Linked DNA regions of Homo sapiens: all the other regions are linked to region 2. Evidence: promoter capture Hi-C in human tissues and cell types (Jung and others, 2019). All regions are on one chromosome and are shown on one strand. Each heading gives the region's core, a stretch centred on a gene start or on the middle of the fragment in contact. The rest is flanking DNA. Distances are from core to core; before and after follow the strand shown. Region 1 overlaps MRPS21 (mitochondrial ribosomal protein S21). Region 2 holds the start of C1orf56 (chromosome 1 open reading frame 56). Region 3 overlaps ECM1 (extracellular matrix protein 1).

Region 1 (3,706 bases), core at 179-2,678, 750 kb after region 2:
TGCCTGGAGCGGGGGGAGGTGCGGGTGGCAGACTCACATGTCAGTGTAGCCAGTCTACGTCAGGACAGACGTGTATGCAGAAGGACTCAATGGACCCAGAAGGTAGCCCACTAGGAGTAAAAGGAGTCAACAGGGCATGCTTCCAGTGTACTCACCTTTCTTTGCTTGGGGGCCAGCCAATCATGCAGGGCTTCCTAGCAACCCCCACTCTCCACCTTCTCATCCCGGGGCACCAATGAGGGCCCCCAGTTATATAACAGGCATTTTGTGGTGGCCTCACTGGACAGACACGTAGGCTATTTCCTTTGTAAGACTCTCTCTGTACTCCAAACATGGTAAAGCTTTAATCACCTCCCTCTAGACTCATTTGCTCTCCTACCTATTGTTGTAATTAGACCACAGAACAAGCAAATTATTTTTAAACTACCAGCTATGAGAAAGCTGAAAGAGATCAGGAGAGGCCTGGAGTGTGAGAAAGATATACAGAAAAAGTGGCTAGAGAGAGGACATTTGGGAAAAGCAGAGAAAAAGAAGAAACAGAAAAGTGCATCAGTCAGAAAATGTGTTTAACAGGCAGCAGGAAAACAGAAGATTGGATCACTCCAAAATCAGTCTGCTCACGTATGCAAGCTTGAAAGTCCTTACCTAGAAAATTATTCTAAGAGGCCGGGCACGGTGGCTCACCCCTGTAATCCCAGCGCTTTGGGAGGCCGGGCGGGCCAATCATGAGGTCAGGAGTTTGAGACCAGCCTGGCCAACATCGTGAAACCCCGTCTCTACTACAAAAAATTAGCCGGACGTGGTGGCAGGTGCCTGTAATCCCAGCTACTCGGGAGGCTGAGGCAGGAGAATCACTTGAACCCGGGAGACAGAGGTTGCAGTGAGGCGAGACCACGCAGTCTGGGCAACAGAGAGAGACTCCGTATTAAAAAAAAAAGAAAGGAAAAAGAAAATTATTCTAAGACTGAAATATTTGTTCATTTCCCCCCTGCCCCGCGAAGCTATAATACAATTTATGGGACTCTGAGTCTATGGGACTTGAATTTCTTTTCCTTTTTTGAGACGAAGTCTCGCTCTCGTCCCCCAGGCTGGAGTGCAATGAATGGCGCGATCTCGGCTCACTGGAACCTCCGCCTCCTGGGTTCAAGCGATTCTCCTGCCTCAGCCTCCTGAGTAGCTGGGATTACAGGCACCTGCCACCATGTCCGGCTAATTTTTTTTCTTTTGAGACGAAGTCTCGCTCTCGTCCCCCAGGTTGGAGTGCAATGGCGCCATCTTGGCTCACTGCAAGCTCCGCCTCCCGGGTTCACGTCATTCTCCTGCCTCAGCCTCCCGAGTAGCTGGGACTATAGGCGCCCGCCACGGCGCCCAGCTAATTTTTTGTATTTTTAGTAGAGACGGGGTTTCACTGTGTTAGCCAGGATGGTCTCGATCTCCTGACCTCGTGATCCGCCCCCCTCAGCCTCCCAAAGTGCTGGGATTACAGGCATGAGCCACCGCGCCCGGCCAATTTTTGTATTTTTTTTAGTAGAGACAGGGTTTCATCATGTTGGCCAGGCTGGTCTTGAACTCCTGACCTCAGATGATCCACCCGCCTCGGCCTCCCAAAGTGCTGAGCTTACAGGGGTGAGCCACCGCGCCTGGCCAAATTTATTTTTCTAACCACTCCTCTTCTTTCTTAAAAAGAAAAGAATATAATTCTTTTCTTTTTAAGCAATGTAAATTGCTTTTTTCCAAATCCTACTCCTACTTTGGTGTTTTAATCCCTGAAGAAAAGGTAATACTGTGCTTCTTAACCAGGGTAATTAACAGAATGCCAAAGGATACAAGTTTCTGGACAAATTTGATGCATCTGCCTGGAGGCACCAATTTTAACTCGAAGGAGTGGGGGTGTTACCCATAAAACAGATGCAATGGCAACGAATACGAAGTTCACCTTACATTTTAATTTAGGGAAGCTTCAAAGAAATTCCATGTTTGCTTATAGTAGCAGAACCCCTATAGTTCATTCACTCTCCTCTGCTGTTAACGACACTTCAGTAAAAAAGTTTGACAAACATTAAATAAGTGACAAAAAAGATAAAGGAACATTTATGTTCATTAAGTAGACATTTAATGAGAGCTTTGGATGTGCCAGACACTTTGGTAAATCCAAGAGATACACAAATGAAAAAGCATAGGTTTCTGTCCTTAAGGAGGCTACAAGCCTTTTTTTTTTTGAGACAGGGTCTCACTTTGTCACCCAGGCTGGAGTGCAGTGGCGCGATCTCGGCTCACTGCAACCTCCAGCTCCCAGGTTCAAGCGATTCTCCTGCCTCAGCCTCCCGAATAGCTGGGATTACAGGTATGCACCATCATACCCGGCTAATTTTTATATTTTTAGTAGAGACGGGGTTTTACCATGTTGGCCAGGCTGGTCTTGAACTCCTAACCTCAAATGATCCGCCCCCCTCAGCCTCCCAAAGTGCTGGGATTACAGGCATGAGTCACTGTGCCCAGCCAGGAGGCTACAAGTCTATTATAATAATTTTCAATCCTGGTGAAATCTCATGGTATGTTTTTTAAAATGCTGCCATCCAGGTTGCAACCCCTGGAGATTCTGATTCATCTCAGATTGGGCCCTGGCATTAGTTTTGTTTTCTTGATGGTTCGTTCCCTAGGTGATCCTAATAGGCAGCCAGGGTTGAAACCACAGGGTGTCACACTGACCACTCTCCGGCTCTCTAATATTAACACTTCGACCCAGGAAATAGGTTTGTGTAAAATGCCAGTCACCAACAAAAAGAGAACCATAAAAGTAGTATGTGGGCTGGGTGTGGTGGCTCACACCTGTAATCCCAGCACTTTGGGAGACAGAGGCGGGTGGATCACCTGAGGTCAGGAGTTCGAGACCAGCCTGGCCAACATGGTGAAACCCCGTCTCTACTAAAAATACCAAAACTAGCCAGGCGTGGTGGCAAGTGCCTGTAATCCCAGCTACACGGGGGGCTGAGGCAGGAGAATCACTTGAACCTGGGAGGCGGAGGTTGCAGTGAGCCGAGATCATGCCACTGCACTCCAGCTTGGGGGACAAGAGCGAGACATCGTCTCAAACAAACAAACAAACAAACAAACAAAAAACAGAAAAAAAAACAGGAAAAGCAAAAACTGAGTGTTGATTAAATTAAAAATATAGTGGCTGGACAAGGATTTTTAAAAGAGGCAGATAAAAAGGGGTATAGACAATCTTAGACAAAGAAATAAGAGTCTTCTCTCAAAAGATAAGAGCTGGCCTTATATTTTCTGCAAACCTGGTATCAGTGAAGAGGATCAGGAAGGAGATTAGAAATATTTTGTTTCTCAGATTCTGTTTCAAATTTTAGGTGTAAATGGGGATGCATTCCATATATGATATGGGGCATCACTGCAGTCTCTGCCTCCCAGGTTCAAGCGGCTCTTCTGCCTCAGCCTACGGAGTAGCTGGGATTACAGACCTGTGCCACCATGCATGGCTAATTTTTGTATTTTTAGTAAAGACGGGGTTTCGCCATGTTGGCCAGGCTAGTCTCGAACTCCTGGCCTCAAGTGATCCACCATTCTTAGCCTCCCAAATTGCTGAGAATACAAGACTGAGGCACTGCACCCAGCCGCTACTCTCTTGATACAACTGTAAGAAGTGGTTCAGCTGGGCATGGTGGCTCACGCCTGTAATCCCAGCACTTTGGGA
Region 2 (3,796 bases), core at 1,111-3,610:
TACTCCCAAATGGTAGTGGTGAAGAGAGTGGGCACTGGTGTCAAACCTGGTTTAAATCTCGTGGCTCTGCCACTTACTAGCTTTGTAAACCTCAGTTTCTTCATCTGAAAAGCAGGGATAATAATACCTCATAGGATGTGAGGATCGATTCAGGTAAAGTGCACATAGTAAGACCTCAAATTTTGGCACTTGTTGCTGTTAAGCTGTATTAGGTCAAAACTATTAATTGATTAAGATCCTTCATATCTGTTAATTATCTGTGCATCAAAAAGACTTTATGGGCCGGGCACAGTGGCTCATGTCTGTAATCCCAGAATTCTGGAAGGCCAAGGTGGGCAGATCCTTGAGCTCAGGAGTTGGAGACCAGCCTGGGCAACATAGCGAGATCTTGTTAGCCAGGCATGGTGGTGCACGTCTGTAGTCCCAGCTATTCAGCAGGCTAAGGTGGGAGGATTGCTTGAGCCCAGAAGATGGAGGGTGCAGTGAGTTGTGACTGCGCCACCACACTCCAGCCTGAGTGATGAGAGACCCTGTCTCGAAAAAAAAGTCTTATGGTCAGGGGCACAGTAGCTCATGCCTGTAATCCCAGCACTTTGGAAGGCTGAGGCAGGAGAATTGCTTGAGCCCAGGAGTTTAAGACCAGCCTGGGCAACATAGCGAGATCTTGTCTGTGAAAAAAACAGAGAATTTCCAAGACCAGGCATGGTGGCTCATGCCTATAATCCCAGCACTTTGGGAGGCCGAGGCGGGTGGATCACTTGAGGTCAGGAGTTCTAGACCAGCCTGGCCAACATGGTAAAATGCTGTCTCTTCTAAAAAAAAAAAAAAAATTAGCCGGGCATGGTGGTGGGTGCCTGTAATCCCAGCTACTCAAGAGGCTGAGGCAGGAGAATTGTTTGAACCTGGGAGGCAGAGGTTGCAGTGAGCCAGGATCACGCCATTGCACTCCAGCCTCGGCAATAAGAGTGAAACTCTTGTCTTGAAAAAAAAAAATATTTCCAATCTTAACTATTTGGTCAATAATCACCTAATGAGCAGTAAGACATTTTACCTAATGACCAACCAGTAGTTGCTCAATAAATAATAGGTGGAATCAATGGCTAACAATGTGAATAACCAATGCATGTTATGAATCAATAACCAGGTAAGTCAGTAACAGTTCATGTAAGCAACACTGGCTGGCTTAGCAACTGGGTTTTAGATACCAGGACTTTTCAGATCCGTCAACAAAGACCCTGGCTCATCACCAAACACTTACTGGTTGCATCTCTGTGAACACTGAAGAGAGGCTATTCCAAATATCCTCCAGGCCAATCCTGACCCGTTTCCAAAAAGCCAGGGCTGGGCAGGGGCTGGCGGGTGGCAGGCTGGGACTGCTTCTGAGGTGGATGGTGGGGAAGGGGGTAGTGGTGGTCCTGGTACTGGTGGTGCTCTGAGAGGCACAGTTGGTGTCAGTACAGAGACTTGTGTCCAGGGGGCACTCTTCCCGAAGTCGGTTGCAGGGACATTGTTGATAGGTGCAAGGCTTGTGCTCCGTGCGGAGCTGGCTCAGCGCCCCAACTCGAAGGCGCCCGGAAAGGCCGTGCAGCTTCCCAGACCGGCTCCGGCTCATGGTGCCCGACTTGCAGTGGCAGTGCCACGGGCCCCAGGGCATCAGCACCAGCCGCAGATCCTCAGGAGATGGCATGGCTGTGGGTGAGGGTGACGGCCACCGGCTCGGGGTAGACCCAGGTGTGGACCACTGGCTCAGGGTGGCCTGCGAGCCTGGCAGGTCCTCAGTAGACCTCCCGGGGGAGCGCGGCAGGCTTGAAGTCAGCCTGATTTCAGGCTCCTGACTATTGGCTATAAACCTCGTGCTGGAACTCCCCGCTGTATTGGGAGTCGCACTGGGAAGCTCTCTGCTGGTGCTATCCTTTCCGGCATTAATCACAACCCCCTCTTCTGAAGACCCATCCTCCTCGTTAATGGCGGACGACCGGCTAAAGCCGGTGGACACCGTGGCGGCCAAGAGCTCGGCAGCCGCTGGTCCAGCCAGGCGGTCGGCGTCGGCCATGGCATCATTCTCGTCCTCTAGGATTATCCTTGTCTTCCGGGGAAGACCAGTCCGGGCGGTGCTCCGGTAGCTGCGGGTCATGGGGCCCCCAAAGCGTAAACTGACCCGCTGCATTTCGGTCGGAGTCTGGGTCAGGCCTTGGGCCCCCGCCGCCCGGGGACCCAGATTCAGCAGCAGGACCCACAGCAGCGCGCCGGCGGCGGGGACCATGGGGCTGGGCTCTTGGGGTTGGGAGGGTGGCCAGTGAGGCAAGCCCTGCCTCCTACCTTCGCTCCCTCCCTTCCGCTGTAGACCCACCGGGTCGTTTGAACCGAGGCCCGCGGGGAAGGGGGTGGGGTTCGACGCGCAGGCGCGCTCGCGCGGGCCGCGCGGGGTGCTCCTAAGGAACCTCTGCGGCAAGAACTCTGCCAGAACCGAAGGTTTGGGATGCAAGGGGTGGTGAAAGAGTCGTTCACTTCTTTGGAGCAGAGCTTAAATGTCTCATCGCAGTTTATTAGCCTCTACAGTTCTAAATTTACTAAAGAGGGCAAAAATACAGGTTTTGAAAGCACTCCTTCCCAGGCTCACAGGCAGCAGACATGACTTAGAAGGAAAAAGGGCATACAGCGGTTCTTCAAGATTTAATGAGCTGACTCTCCTGGCTCCCAGCAGGCAGGCTGGCTGTCAGGTAAGCCTCTTCCATCCAAGGTGGAAGGATCACAGTCCCTCCAGTTAGACAGGAGGAAAATTAGGACCCAAAAAGATGAAGTTATTTGCCCAAGGTTCTACAGCTAAAGTAGGATTAAAACCCAGAGCTCTGGCCGAGCGCGGTGGCTCACACCTGTAATCTCGGCACTTTGGGAGGCCGAGGCGGGCAGATCACGAGGTCAAGAGATCGAGACCATCCTGGCCAACATGGTGAAACCCCGTCTCTACTAAAAATACAAAACAATTAGCTGGGCGTGGTGGCGTGCGCCGGTAGTCTCAGCTACTCGCTGAGGCTGAGGCAGAAGAATGGCTTGAACCGGGAGGCGGAGGTTGCAGTGAGCCGAGATCGCACCACTGCACTCCAGCCTGGCGACAGAGCGAGACTCCGTCTCAAAAAACAAAAAACAAAAAAACCCAGAGCTCTGCATATCCCATACAAAATGACCCTACATTCAGCCTTCCGTCCCAGCAACTGGAATGAAAGTCACCCAGCAGATCAGTTTCCCAGCCTCAAAGCCCTGCTGAAAGTAGGGTCATGCAAAGGACAAAATCCCACTGAGAAGTGAAGATCCGGTGGTACTGAGGTTGGGGATAAGATGATTTACAAAACAGTTCAGATGTTTCAGGGATTCAGGTGTAGGCAGATCACTAACTGGTTCTAAGGCCTTTTATCCAGTCCTGTGCTATGTCCCTCCTGAGCCATGGAGATCCCGGTCCAGCCTAGGAGAGGGAGAGGGGGAGGAGAGAAGTGGTTCAGGGGGTAGGACTTGGGTTTTATTTTCTGGTTTGGGGAGAGAAGCCAGGTGAATTGGAAGAGCTAGATGATTGGGTTGAGTCATCATTTAGCACTTTTGCTCCCTAACACCCTCTCCCCCACTGGATATCATCTGTTCACTGCCAACACATCTCTTCCTAATTTCTAGGGCCAGTCTGAATCTCCTCTGCACTGTGATTATTCCTTTATTCCTTATTGCCTCTGCACTTATATGTATAGGTTTTTTTTTTTTTTCATTTATTCTTGTTGGATGCAGTAGTGTCCTTCATTTCTTCTCTGGG
Region 3 (3,610 bases), core at 1,111-3,610, 530 kb after region 2:
TCCGAGTCTTCATTCCGATTCTTTCAGATCCAGCCTTGAGGCCTCGGGTTCCTGGGAGCAGCTTTGTAGGGCTTGAGAGTCCTAGTCACCGCCACCCTCGGGTCCAGCTCAGGTTGGGGGCTACAGCTCCGTCCCTCCGGCACTTGGGACGACACTCTTTGAACTGGCCTCCCAGCGTCCCGCCTTGCTGGCTGCCGACTAAACTTTTTTTTTTCTTTTTGAGACTGGGTCTCGCAGGTTGAAGTGCAGTGCCGAGACCATAGCTCTTTGGGTGGCTGGGATTACAGGCGCGCGCCACCTCCCCGGCTCTCCGACTAGACATTATTTTATTTTATTTTATTTTTGAGGCACAGTCTCGCTGTGTCGGCCAGGCTGAGTGCAGTGGTGCGATACTGGCTCACTGCAACCTCCACCTCCCAGGTTCAAGTGATTCTCGTGCCTCAGCCTCCCGAGTAGTTTGGATTATAGGTGGGCACCACCACGCCTGGCTAATTCAGTAAAGATGGGGTTTCACCATGTTGGTCGGGCTGATCTCGAACTCCTAACCTCAAGTGATCCGCCCGCCTCGGCCTTCCAAAATGCTGGGATTACAGCGTGAGCCAGTGCGTCCGGCCTAGACATTCTTAAAAGGCAAATTGGAACACATCCTCCGCTTGAAAACGCCAGTGCCCCCTGGGCCAGGGCACCAAGATCCACTTAAAACCCTGCGGGTGAGGCATTAGTGATGAGCTCCTGCTTATCATTCCAGCCATATCAGAGAGGAAGGCCACCAAAGAGTCAGGTCCTTTCAGCCTTGACCCTTGTGCGCACTCTGCCCGCTCACACCCTCTACTTCTTTACTGGAGAAACTCTGACCTCAACGCCCCTCCTGTGCACCTGTGCTGCCCCCAGCCCCACTCCCACCTCGGGACGTTCCTGTCATGCTCAGAGCACGCTGGGGGCCCTGTACCACAACACTTGTCACACCTGCTAGGCTCAGGGACAGTGAACAACCTCAGGGCAGGGGCTGTGTGTGTTCTGGATGTGTATCCCCAAGTCTAGCAGAGTGTGCATAGATAGGGGTTCAATAAATGGATATTGGCCAGGCACAGTGGCTCACGCCTGTAATCCCAGCACTTTGGGAGCCTGGCCAACATGGTGAAAACCCGTCTCTACTAAAAATACAAAAATTAGCTGGGTGTGCTGGTGCACGCCTGTAATCCCAGCTACTCGGGAGGCTGAGGCAGGAGAATCGCTTGAACCCAGGAGGGTTGCAAGTTGCAGTGAGCCAAGATCGTGCCACTGCACTTCAGCCTGGGCGATAGAGCGAGACTGTGTCTCAAGAAAAAAAAAAAAAGGATATTGAATGAATGAAGGCATGAATTCTAAGGATCAAAAGTGAAGCTTTAAAAATGTTAGGCTGGGCTGTGGCATTTTGGGGGCTCACCAAGGCCAAGAACCATATCTTCTTTGAGTCCTGATAGCTAGCTAACAAGGTGGCACTCCTTTCAAAATATGTGAATAAATTCAAGATGGCAAAGTGACGTCAAGCTGTTTAGTTATGGTCGCATCCCACAGCCTGTGAACATCTGCTCAGTGAAGGGGGCAGGGCCGTGGGCCTCAGGGGCCAGGCACTGAAGGAAATACAAGCAGGCTTAGGAGGGTGTGTTTGTCTGTGGTGTGTCTGAAAACGCCAGTGCCCTCCTGGGCCAGGGCACCAAGATCCACTTAAAACACTGCGGGTGAGACATTAGATAGACAATGAGGACACCAAATCCAAGAGGTGTTTAGTGTAATGAGTGTTCAGATGGGTGGGGCAGGGTGGGGTTCCCCCCATCTGACCCTCTAGGGCTCTGGGGTGACTCATTCTTCCTTGGGCTCAGAGGTGGAGCTGATATTTGTTCCTCCAGTTGAGCCCTGCTCCCCCTGGCCCTTGGCGTTCTCAGTGTCTCCAGACACTAGAGCCACGTTCCTCAGATAATTGATGTTGAAGCAGTTGACCTGTTCATCCCCAGGACTCAGGTAACAGCAGAGGGCAGGGTCTCGCCAGATGTTACGTCGGGGACCACACAGATCATTGATGAAGGTTAATTTCTGATGAATGAGAAAAGTAAAACAGATGATGGGGTGGGGAGGTGGTCCAAGGACAGATGTAGATACTTGGGTGCCAAAGTCCCCCTTTCATCAGCTTCTACTGCTCTCTCCCTCGTTCCCCTCCTGGGGCCCAGAGAGAGTACAAGACTGCCTTGCACAGCTGGATTCCTTGTGACTGACAAATGTGTACATCTGGAAATGCCAGAAGCTTGTGGCCCGGAGAAGGCATAATAGGAACTTAGAGATGGGGAGCAGGCCAGGTCAGAGTGAAGACTTTTCTGGAACCAAGAAAAAAACACCTCCCCCACTAGTCATTATAACCAAAGGCTGGTTTGAGGTACTAAAGAGAAGGGGTGGCCTGCAGTTCTAGCTCTTTCCCTCCCCTCCCCTGCATTCCTCTGGAGACTAGACTCCACACACTCACCTCCTCCTCTGCACAGCAGGCCTGTTCTGGAAATGGCAGGTCACAGCAGCGGGCAGTCATGTTGTGGATCAGCCCAGGAATATGTTTACTATGTTGGTGTGAAAGGGGCAGGGGTTAGGGTCTTTGGGCATCTTCTGGCATCAGATGGGGTTGGGATATCATGATTTTGCTTTTCCCAAAGGTGTCCCAAAAGGAAGTTTTCGGGAAAGGAAGAGAGTGGGGAAGGACTAGGCAACTTACTGCTTGGTGAGAACTCTTTGGTTTCCACAGAGGTGGCCCATGAGGTTGGGGGTGACTCGACCGATGTCAATGGTCAAGATGTCCCGGTCATAGTTGGGGTAAGGAGCCCGACGGGCAAAGCACTCATCCCGAGTAGGGCTGGGAGGGTGGCGGCAACACAAGTGGTGGTGGGTCTTCACAGCATACTCCCGGTCACAGTATTTGTCAAGGGTATCCTCCCACTGTGGACCAGAGAGAGGGAAGTCAGAAGCTGGACACTTGGCCCCTTCTCTCCTGACCATCGACTTCCCTTATCGTCCCTGGCAACTAGATGAGGGGCTCCCAGCCCGAGAGGCCCAAAGGGAATGGCAAAAAAGTAGAGGGTTAGGAGGCAACTGTTGATGTGTGGGCTTGGGAAGGTGGACGGGTGGAAGCCTGGATGAGGTTCCAAGCTGGTGCCGGGAGATGAGCTGGAACAGTGGATGGAGAAGGTCAGGTGAGGCCAGAGCTGGACGGATGGATGGATGGTAGACAGATGCGTGTGTGGATCATGAGTGGAGGAGGCCAGAAGTGTAGTACGAAGCTCAAGATGAACAAACTCAGGTGACAAACACAATGGATGGACGGACAGCCACAAGCAGATGAACGGGTGGACGCACTCACAGCAGGGGGGGTACATGGATGGATGGACTGGCAGGATCAGAGGTCGAAGATGGGCAGGCAGGCAAACAGGCTCTCAGGGAGGCTGGGACGCCCACTTACGGCCTTCCATGTACAGGTGTGATTGTTCCCCTGGCGGCAGCAGCGCTGGAACTCCCTCTCCAGCTGGATCAGTGCCAGCAGCTCCCTTTGTAGGGGGTCAGTAGCTGGCAGGTTGCGTGGCACAGAGCGGAA

Evidence for each region. The method cuts DNA at HindIII sites, captures the fragments that hold promoters and counts their contacts. A contact is called where the count stands out against the background at its distance.
Region 1: a contact is called between a fragment that was not itself captured here and the fragment with the promoter of C1orf56 in region 2, in 1 of the 25 tissues and cell types used here (hippocampus).
Region 3: a fragment that was not itself captured here is called in contact with the fragment with the promoter of C1orf56 in region 2 in 1 of the 25 tissues and cell types used here (heart right ventricle).

Annotation. Positions count from the first base shown.
Region 1 is chr1:150,298,856-150,302,561 of GRCh38, reverse strand. All of the region lies in intron 2 of MRPS21 (mitochondrial ribosomal protein S21), which reads right to left. Among named protein-coding and RNA genes, the nearest start is that of MRPS21, 6.8 kb to the right of the region's middle. The HindIII fragment of the contact is 5,855 bases long and covers 1-3,706 here.
Region 2 is chr1:151,046,315-151,050,110 of GRCh38, reverse strand. C1orf56 (chromosome 1 open reading frame 56) reads right to left here and starts at 2,360. Exons shown (of 2, transcript NM_017860.5): 1 at 1,259-2,360. The coding sequence starts at 2,263. It overlaps BNIPL (BCL2 interacting protein like), which reads right to left. Exons shown (of 10, transcript NM_138278.4): 10 at 2,391-3,460. The coding sequence ends at 3,424. RefSeq lists enhancers at 1,463-1,702, 1,983-2,032. The HindIII fragment of the contact is 7,874 bases long and covers 1-3,796 here.
Region 3 is chr1:150,511,700-150,515,309 of GRCh38, reverse strand. ECM1 (extracellular matrix protein 1) reads right to left here. Exons shown (of 10, transcript NM_004425.4): 7 at 3,479-3,610; 8 at 2,738-2,958; 9 at 2,498-2,585; 10 at 1,521-2,073. The coding sequence ends at 1,843. Among named protein-coding and RNA genes, the nearest start is that of FALEC, 2.2 kb to the left of the region's middle. RefSeq lists an enhancer at 44-113. The HindIII fragment of the contact is 4,741 bases long and covers 1-3,610 here.